Linked DNA regions of Homo sapiens: region 2 is linked to region 1. The links are contacts of gene promoters, found by promoter capture Hi-C in blood cells and fetal thymus (Javierre and others, 2016). All regions are on one chromosome and are shown on one strand. Each heading gives the region's core, a stretch centred on a gene start or on the middle of the fragment in contact. The rest is flanking DNA. Distances are from core to core; before and after follow the strand shown. Region 1 holds the start of CAMK2N2 (calcium/calmodulin dependent protein kinase II inhibitor 2). Region 2 has its middle 6.6 kb from the start of HTR3E-AS1.

Region 1 (5,132 bases), core at 378-2,877:
TGCATGAGCGCGGCGGCGGGTTCCGGGCGGGTCCGCGCCGCCGCTACCGCGGCCGCCGTGGTGCTGAAGCGGACAGCTCCGGAGTGCCTGGCGGCGGCGGCGGCACGGCCCTGCAGCCCCCGCCCGCGGGCGCCTGGGCCGGGGCGGGGGGGCGCCGGCAGCCGCATCGCCGGCCCGCGCTCCTGGCCGCTGCGAGGCTGGGCCCGGAGCCCGCCGCCCGAGCCGGCGCGTCTACACTCCGGACGGCGGCTTCTCCCCCATCCCCTTCAGCACGTCGTCTATCCGGTCATCCTCGATCACCACTGCGCAGGGAGAAAGCGCGTCAGCCGCGCGGCCTCGGGGGGCGGCGGCGATGAGAATGAGCCCCGCGTCCTAGCTTCCCGCGCAGCTACTGCCCGTGGCCCAGCGACGCCCCTCGGAACCCTGTGCCGCGGTGTCCTCCCCGTCCGAACTCTTCTGGAGACCCAACCCGCCGCCAAGCCTAGACCCCCTCCCCTCCCGATGGCGGAACGCCCCTCTTCCAAAGGCTCCAGCTATTCTCCCTCCCAGTGCGAGCCCTCCTGCCACCTGAGCCTTCCTCCCTCTGAGTTGATCAGAAACCTCTTGCTCACGGAATCCCCCTCTTCAACCCGCACTTCAACAGATCCCCCTGCTCAAATGGGGCTCAAACCGAGTATCCAGCTGGTCCAGCCCTCTCCTCAACCTGAGCCCTCTCGCCGCTGGAACCCCTCTTCCGATCCTGGCACCAACAGAGCTCCCCTCCCCATGCAAACAACCAAGACAAGCGGACCCCCGGCCTCCTGCCCTCTCTTGTTAGACGTCCCTCTCGACCCGAAGGTTCTTCGTATTGTCCACCGACTCAGTATTTGATCCCAAAGAATCAGCCCGTTACCCCGTGCTCCCACTTCCGTGCAGCCCCAAATGCCCCGACCGGCCCCTCCCCCTCGCCCGGGTGCCAGGGCTCTGCTTCCAGAGGTGGCGAGCATCGAATCCGGGGCACCGTGTTCCCGGGAGAAGGGAAGAGGGGGACACACACTGCAGCGGGGACCCCCCCCTCCAGCCCGGGCTGGAGAGCGGCTGGTGCGCTGGTCTGCGGCAAGAGCTGCGGGCACTCGGCGGGGAACGGCAGCCGGGGGGCGCCCGGCGGAGGGTTTCTGGGTCAGGCGGCGACTCCGGGCCCGGGCCGCGTACCTCGCTTGGCTCGGCCGATCTGGCCCAGCTTGGGGGGTCGCTTGGCCTGGTTGCCCGCGAAGAAGGAGTTGGTGTCCTGCAGGCGGCAGCTGAAGGAGAGGTCGGAGCCCTCGGGGTCTGCGCCGAAGCGGCCCATCTTGTCTTCGCTGTAGGGCAGGATCTCGGACATGGCGGGCGCGGGGTGGGCGCGGGGCGGGAGCGGGACTGCGGCGGGGCGCGGGCGGCGGGCTTGCTGCCGGACCGGCCCTACCTCAGCAGGGGAGCCGGCGGAAGGATGAAGTCATGCAGCATCCGGGGCTGAGGAGCCAAGCGGGGCCTCCTCCCCCGCGCCTCCGCCTCCCGGGCCGCTGGGCAGGCGGCGGCGGCGGCGGTGGCGGGGACCGGGCGGGGGCGGGGGCGGGGGGCGGGGGTGGCGGCGGCGGCGGCAAGAGCGGAATGACGATGAGCGCCCGACTGCGGCAGAGCACGGCGGGCGGGGCGCGGTGGAGGCGGGGCGGGCACTGGCCAGGGGAAAGAGGCGGGGCCGGGGGCAGGAGCGCGCCCAGCTACCCCGGGAACAGAGGCAGCTGGAGTGGGAGGTTCCCGCACTGTGGCGGGGAATGGCCAGCACGTGGGTCTTGGGGAATAGTACCAGCCAACCCGGCCGGGACCTCGCGGGGAGGGGCGGGACCGAAGGGGGGTGGGATCGAGCCTGGTACTGGAGGAGCTTGGAGGAGGGTCTGACCCCTAGGCTGGGAGAGGCGTGCAAGGGGGACTGGGAGCAGGAGGGCAAAAGCTGGCCGGGCGCGTTGGGGCGGGAAGGCGGCCGCAGGGCTGGCAATGGAAAGCGGGGAGCGGGAAATGCGCGGGGAGGAGACTCGGGTACAGGGTGACTGGGGAAGGCACGAACCCACAGCGCGGGAAGAGCTCGGGCCAGTGGGATGGTGCCCTTGCCGCTGACGCGCTCTTGTACTAGTTGCTCTGCTGGTCTTAAGTAGATCGTCAGGGTCCGTGCGCCTCTGAGTGCCGGTCTGTGTCTCTGTCTCCGCCTTTGTGTGTGTCAGTCCATCTCTAAGTGTCTGTATCTCTCTGTCTCTGTGCCCCGTATCTCTTTCGCTGTGTTATGGCCTTTGTCTATGCCTGTCCCTTAAGTGTCTGCCTTTCTCTATCTATCTCCATTCTTGACTCCTGTATCTCTGTGCCAGTGTCTCCGTCTCCTGAATCTGGGTATTTCAGTCTCTCCTAGGAGGGGTCTATAGAAACTGGGCCGACGCGCGCGCACCAGGGCAGACACCCCCAGCCCTAGTCCGGTGGCTGTAGCCCCCCGCGGCTCTGGAGTGGTGCGCTCGCAGTGTAGGAGGAATGAATGGCGGCGTCGCGGGGGGCGCCCTGGGCTGCGGGTGACGCGGGGAAGCTCGGAGCACCTGAGGACGCGGAGCGCGCCAGTGTGTGCCCCGAGGGAGTGCGGTAGAGATGGAGGGTGCCCCCCGCCCTCGTTGCTTTGGACCACGGGTGAGTTCTCGCCTCACCGATGGGAACATGCCCTCTTCTCCCCTTGCCTCCCGCCCCCACAACCCCCGCCCTGGCTGGCCGTCACCCGCGGCGTCACCTGCTTGCCAGCGCGCAGGAGCTCTGGCGCAATCACTGGCCTTGGGGAGGAGGGGGTGTCTCACATGCGGCGACAGTGACGGCAGCGCTGAAAACGGTAATGATCACCCTGTACGTTCATTCCACACTCCAGGCGAACGCGCTTTCCTTCCTTAATCTGGCCAAATTACCAAATCACACAGCTGGTGAGGCTGCCTTGTAGTGGGTCTCCTTCCAACACTTTCTCGCCAGGTGTTAATACCGGAGACACAGGGACAAACGCAATGGTGGCTGCCCAGGGAACTGGATGGGGGGGGCGGTATGCCACAGGATACCTTGATGCCAGCCTCACTCAAGGGCCCAGGCCTGGGGGCCCATCACTATGAAGCCCTCCTCTGCTCTGTCCTAGTCTCCGGGATGAGGGCCACAGCTGGAGGTGGAGGCCCAGCCTGGAGTGAGAGGAGCCCTGAAACTGGAAGGACAATAAAGGCGGAAGACTGGGGTCACTGGAAGAGAGTCCAGAAAATTCCACATACACTGGAAGTTGTCCAGTAATGGGTTCCAATCCTGACTCCCACTTTCTCAGTGACCTTGAACTGAAGGACCCATAATCATGGTTTTAAAAAATTAATTCGTTTGTACTTAAAACATTTTAGGAGGCCGGGCTCAGTGGCTCACGCCTGCAATACCAGCACTTTGGGAGGCCGAGGTGGGTGGATCACCTGAGGTCAGGAGTTTGAGACCAGCCTGATCAACATGGCAAAACCCTGTCTCTACTAAAAATACAAAAAAAATTAGCCAGGTGTGGCACACACCTGCAGTCCCAGCTACTTGGGAGGCTGAGGCACAAGAACCGCTTGACCTAGGGTGGCAAAGGTGGCAGTTGGCGGACATTGGGCCATTGCACTCCAGCCTGGGTGACAAAGCGAGGCGAGACTCCGTCTCAATAAAAGAAAGAGAGAGAGAGAGAGAGAGAGAGAGAGAGAGAGAGAGAGAGAGAGAGAAAGGAAGGAAGGAAGGAAAAAAATTTTAGGAAAATTAAGAAAATCACATAACATCTTTTTTTTTTTTTTTTTTTTTGACACGGAGTCTTGCTCCGTTGCCCAGGCTGGAGTGCAATGGCGCGATCTTGGCTCACCATAACCTCTACCTCCCAGGTTCAAGCGATTCTCCTGCCTCAGCCTCCCGAGTAGCTGGGACTACAGGCACACGCCACCATGCCCAGCTTTTTTTTTTTTTTTTTTTTTTTTTTTTTTTTGAGATGGAGTCTCACTCTGTCGCCAGGCTGGAGTGCAATGGCGCCATCTCAGCTCACTGCAACCTCCCCCTCCTGTGTTCAAGTGATTCTCATGCCTCAGCCTCCTGGGTAGCTGGGACTACAAGTGTGTGCCACCACTCCCAGCTAATTTTTGTATTTTTAGTAGAGACAGGGTTTCACCATGTTGGCCAGGATGGTCTCAATCTCTTGACCTCGTGATCCGCCCACTCGGCCTCCCAAAGTATTGAGATTACAGGTGTGAGCCACTGCGCCCTGCCAGTCTTTGTATTTTTTGTAGAGATGAGGTTTCACTATGTTGGCCAGGCTGGTCTTGAACTCCTGACCTCGCGATCCGCCCGCCTTGGCCTCCCAAAGTGCTGGGATTATAGGCATGAGCTACCACACCCGGCCTTATAACTATATATATATATATATATCCTTCTAGTCTTTTCACCATGTGTCTGCATGATATGATACCTCTGTAAGCCCCATGTTCTAGTCTGAAGCATGGGGATGATAAAACCTACTTATTAAGGAACGTTTTGCTGGGCAACATTCATGGCTCACACCTATGAATTCCGCCACTCAGAAGGCTGAAGCAGAAGGATCGCTTGAAGCCAGGAGTTGGAGACCAGGCTGGACAACATAACTAGGCCCCATCTCTAAATAAATAAGTAAATAAATAAGCAAGCCGGGTATGGTGGTACACACCTGTGGTCCCAGCTACTTGCAAGGCTGTGGTAGAAGGATCACCTGGGCACAGGAGTTTGAGGCTGCAGTGAGCCATAATGGTGCCACTGCACTCTGGCCTGGGTGACAGAGCAAGACCCTGACTCAAAAAAGAAAGAAAAGGACAGTTTTGTAGATGAAACTGTCCTGGGGTAAAGTGGGTTGTCTCGGGAGGTAGTGAGCTGCCCCTCACCTAAAATGCCAAAGAAGAGGCATGAGGGTTCTTGCCAAGGATGAGATAAGAGTATTGTGTGAGGAATTGAAACAATTCTCCTTTCTCTCTGCACAATGAGGGAGATTGGAAAAATGACAGTTTAATCCAGAATTCACTTGGTTACCTCCTTCTTAAATAATTATATTCCCGTCCCGGCCGTGCCTGCTGGATCAT
Region 2 (5,132 bases), core at 781-3,280, 150 kb before region 1:
AATACAAAAATTAGCTGGGCGTGGTGGCGCATGCCTGTAGTCCCAGCTACTCAGGAGGCTGAGGCAGAAGAATCACTTGAACCCAGGAGGTGGAGGTTGCAGTCAGCCAAGATCACACCACTGTACTCCAGCCTGGAAGACAGAGGGAGACTCTGTCCCAAAAAAAAAAAAAAAAAAGCTTTTTCTCTGGCTGAATGCATGATTGGTTCTGTAACAAGCTTTGTTTCAGGACATTTAAAAAGTATATATTTGTGTTCTTAGGTGTTCTTTTTTTTAAAAAAAGTATATATTCTCTCTATATGCATCTACTAAATAGAGCTTATTTATTACATTATTCAAATCCTCTATATCATAGCTTATTTTTGTCTGTGTGGTCTGTTAAAGTTCAAAAGTATTTTATCCATGTTCTCTGGGTACTTGTAGTTTTCCTTTTATATGCTTGACAGCTATGTGATTTGATGCATAAAAATGTATGGTTATTATATCTTCTTGAATTGTGCCTGATTTTATCCTCATATATTGTCACTATTTGTTCTGTTCAATGTGTTTTGAACATGATTTCCATTTGTAGGATAGTGTTGCAAATCTTGCTTTTGCCTAGTATATTTTCGCACATCTCTTTCATTAATTCTTGATTCATTTTTGGAAGAGTAATATACATACAAGGTACAAATATCAAAAGGTACAGTATGGTCTGGGCACAGCGTTTCATGCCTGTATAAAAATAAAAATAATAGACCAGCCTGGCCAATATGGTGAAACTCCATCTGTACTAAAAATACAAAAGCTAGCGGGGCATGGTGGCACATACCTGTGGTCCCAGCTACTTGGGAGGCTGAGGCAGGAGAATCACTTGAACCCAGGAGGCAGAGGTTGCAGTGAGCCAAGATTGTGCCACTGCACTCCAGCCTGGGCAATAGAGGGAGACTCCGTCTCAAAAATAAATAAATAAACAAAAATTTTAAAAAAATTAAAATTAAAAAATAAATAAAATAAAATAAAATAAAATAAAAACGATAACAGCCCTTTCCCAAAACAAACCTCCTTCTTGCCTGGGGACTAGACTGCCTTTATAGGACTAACGAACTAGCCACAAGATTAGAAATTATGGTTTAGGAGTCATGCAGGTGGAGGCTACAAAATTCTGACCCTCCCTAAACTGCTCCTAAGATCAGTGCTTAAGGTATTTTGCAGACCCTGCACTTAATGAATCAGCTGGCCACCAAGATCGATAAACTGACTCATCTGATCTTGTGGCCCCGACCCAGGAACTGACTCAGCACAAGAGGACAGCTTCAACTTCACATGATTTCATCTCTGATCTGACCAATCGGCACTCCTGGCTCACTGGCTTCCCCCAACCCACCAAGTTGTCCTTAAAAACTCTGATCCCCGAATGCTCAGGGAGGCTGATAAAATTCCAGTGTCCCGCACAGCAGGCTCTGCATGAATTACTCTTCCTCTATTGCAATTTCCCTGTCTTGATGAGTTGGCTCTGTCTAGGCAGCAGGCAAGGTGACCCCATTGGCGATTACAGACGCTTGAATTTCACTAGGTTATGTCAAATGTGTGTTTTCACTAATCCTTTCTGTGTCTCAGTGACCTTTTTCAATGTGAATATTTAAATCTTTCTTCTGTTTGGGGAATTTTTTCTAGGATATAAGTAACACTCTACTTACTCTCTTCCATCTGTTCTTTTTCTGTTCAGGCATTTCTTTTTTTTTTTCTTTTTTTTTTTTTTTTGAGATGGAGTCTCGCTCTGTCACCAGGCTGGAGTACAATGGCGTGATCTCAGCTCACTGCAACCTCCACCTCCTCGGTTCAAGCGATTCTCCTGCCTCAGCCTCCCAAGTAGCTGGGACTACAGGCGCACGCCACCATGCCCGTCTAATTTTTGTATTTTTAGTAGAGATGGGGTTTCACCATGTTGGCCAGGATGGTCTTGATCTCTTGACCTCGTGATCTACCCGCCTCGGCCTCCCAAAGTGCTGGGATTACAGACATGAGCCACCGTACCCAGCGCTGTTCAGGCATTTGTGCTATTCACAAGTTAGGTCCTATGGATCTGTTTTCTAAACTGTCTTTTTCTCTTCCAGCTTCCATTTTTTGTGGCTTGGCTTTGTGTTGTGACCAATCTTTCAGACAACAATTCAGTTTTCAGGAGTGACCATTTCTATTCTCAGCTCATCTACTGAATGTTTTAATTAAAAATAATTTTTAATTTCATAAAGTCTTTTTTTATTTTTTTGAGACGGAATCTTGTTCTGTTGCCCAGGCTGGAGTGCAGTGGCACGATCTTGGCTCACTGCAACCTCCACCTCCCGGGTTCAAATGATTCTCCTGCCTCAGCCTCCCAAGTAGCTGGGATTACAGGTGCATGCCACCGTACCCGGCTAATTTTGTATTTTTAGTAGAGATGGGGTTTCACCATGTTGGCCAAGCTGGTCTTGAACTGCTGACCTCAGGTGATCCACCCACCTCGGTTTCCCAAAGTGCTGGGATTACAGGCATGAGCCACCATGCCCAGCCTCATGAAGTCTTTTAAGTGTTCTAATCACATGTCCTAGAAATTATCTTCTCTCCTTTCTTAATCCTACTTCAGAAGGAGCCCTTGTCCTCAATATTCATATTGGTCATTGACATGGTTTATTTATTTTATTTTATTTTATTTTATTTTATTTTATTTTATTTATTGAGATGCAGTCTTGCTCTGTCTCTCAGGCTGGAGTGTAGTGGCATGATCTCGGCTCACTGCAACCCAGTGAGGTTCAAAAAATTCCAAAGATTCTCCCAGGTTCAAAAGATTCTCCTGCCTCAGCCAACCAAGTAGCTGGGATTACAGGCGCCTGCCAACGTGCTTGGCTAATTTTTGTATTTTTAGTAGAGAAGGGGTTTCACCATGTTAGCCAGGCTGGTCTCGAACTCTTGACCTCTCAGGTGATCCGCCCATCTCAACCTCCCTAAGTGCTGGGATTACAGGTGTGAGCTACTGTGCCCGGCCTGACATGGTTAATTTTAAATGTCAATTTGGCTAGACTGTGGCGCCCAGTCGTCTGGTCAAACACTGGTTTAGATGTTGCTGTGAAGGTATTTTGTATATGTGATTGACAATCAGTAGGCTTTTTTTTTTTTTCCTTTTGAGACAGAGTATCTGTTGCCCAGGCTGGAGTGCAGTGGTGCGATCTCAGTTCACTGCAACCTCCGCCTCCTGGGTTCGAGCGATTCTCGTGCCTCAGCCTCCCAAGTAGCTGGGATTACAGGCATGTGCCACCACACCTGGCTAATTTTGCATTTTTTTAGTAGAGACGGGGATTCACCATGTTGGCCAGGCTGGTCTCGAACTTTAGCCTCCAGTGATCCACCCGCCTCGGGATCCCAAAATGCTGGGATTACAGGTGTGAGCCACTGCGCCTGGCCCCGTTGTTTTCGTTGCCTGCTCGTAATTTTGTGTCCTCTCAGTACCTGTATAGGTCACACTGTAAGGTTCTTTCGAAGAAGAGCAAACCAACTTAACTGTGGCGGCCTGGGCCAGGCTGCTTATATGAACCAGTGATGAAACACTGTCATTCTGCTGAAGCACATGGAGGGCATGCCTCAATTCCCAGGTCAATCCAGGAACAAGTAGCAATCCTCTCCCATGTGCAGAGAATGGAAATAATTGAACGTATTCATTCAATTTCCCCTGCCTTCCAACATGAACCAGTCAGGCTGTCCAATGACCACAGCAGCAAACAGTTAGAGGCAGCTCTTCCCCAAGTTCACAGGTTTCTATTTGAAGTCTATCTGCTGGACTCCTTCGGAGGACTGTAAAGCTCTGATCTTTACACAAGCCTCAAAGAGAGACAAGCTTTTTCCTCAATACTGGTCCATATCATTCAATTGGAACCCAAAGAGAGGAAACAAAGGCACAGACCTGACCATCATTCTTCTTTCCACTCTCTTACCTCTTTTCACTCCTTTATTTTCCCCAAACCCCCTACAATGTCAGGGGTGAGATTTTCCCCTGCATCATATCATCATTCTTCCTGACTCTAGTTTCTTGACTAAATGGTAGACAAAGTTGTCTTCTAGATTATGGGGAAAGCTCATAATTTGACCAACTAGGTCAAATTATGCTTGGTATGCTTAAGAGAGATCTAAAAGTATATAGAAATTCCTTTCACTCTCAAACTATTACCTTGCTGAATAATCACAGTTTTAATATGAGCCATTAAATGTTACCTTTTTCAAAACATGGGTTTTTTCATTTTTCATAAATTACAAGTTTATAGAGAGAGAGAAGGAATCTCTCAATTAAAAAAATTAAGGTGCATAACTTCACACTAGTCATGATAAAATGTTAAATAAACTTAAGTTGATTCTAATAATTTGAAACAGCTTCCCATAGGCATTGACAGCTTCACTGGTAAATTTTATCAAATACTTAAAGAAGAATTAATACCAATTCTACACGGTCTCTTTCAGAAATTAAAAGAAGAGGAAACATTTTGCAACTCATTCTATGAGGCCAGTATTATTATCCAGATACTGAAACCAGACAAAGATGTTATATTTAAAAACAAAAAAACTACAGACCAATATCTCATATGAATATAGACGTAAAAATCCTCAACAAAATACTAGCAAACAGACCGGGCACAGTGGCTCAAGCCTATAATCCCAGCACACTGGGAGACCAGGGCCGGTGGATCACCTGAGGTCAGGAGTTCGAGACCAGCCTGGCCAACATGGCAAAACCCCATTTCTATTAATACAAAAAAAATTAGCCAGGCATGGTGGCGTGCACCTGTAATCCCAGCTACTTGGGAGGCTGAGGCAGGAGAAATACTTGAACCCAGGAGACAGACGTTACAGTGAGCTGAGATTGCACCACTGCACTCCAGCCTGGACAACAGAGTGAGACTGTCTCAAAAAAAAAAAAAAAAATACTAGCAAACTGAATCCAGCAACATATAAAAAGGATTATATGCAATGAACAAGTGGAACTCATCCCAAGAATACAAGATTGGTATAATATCAGAAAATCAATTAATGTAATACACTATATTAAGAGAACAAAACCCACATGATCATTTTAATAGCTGCAGAAAAAGCATTTGACAAAATCCAAAACCTTTTATGATTAAAAAATA

Evidence for each region. Contacts are between HindIII fragments. The CHiCAGO score rates a contact against its expected background, and 5 or more counts as called.
Region 2: a contact is called between a fragment that was not itself captured here and the fragment with the promoter of CAMK2N2 in region 1, in 1 of 17 cell types (M1 macrophages). The highest score is 5.3, in M1 macrophages.

The regions. Positions count from the first base shown.
Region 1 is chr3:184,259,926-184,265,057 of GRCh38, forward strand. CAMK2N2 (calcium/calmodulin dependent protein kinase II inhibitor 2) reads right to left here and starts at 1,628. Exons shown (of 2, transcript NM_033259.3): 1 at 1,192-1,628; 2 at 1-302. The coding sequence starts at 1,360. The coding sequence ends at 232. All of the region lies in intron 2 of EEF1AKMT4-ECE2 (EEF1AKMT4-ECE2 readthrough), which reads left to right. RefSeq lists enhancers at 1-282, 283-834, 2,720-3,482. The HindIII fragment of the contact is 12,942 bases long and covers 1-5,132 here.
Region 2 is chr3:184,109,166-184,114,297 of GRCh38, forward strand. No RefSeq gene overlaps it. Among named protein-coding and RNA genes, the nearest start is that of HTR3E-AS1, 6.6 kb to the left of the region's middle. The HindIII fragment of the contact is 3,629 bases long and covers 217-3,845 here.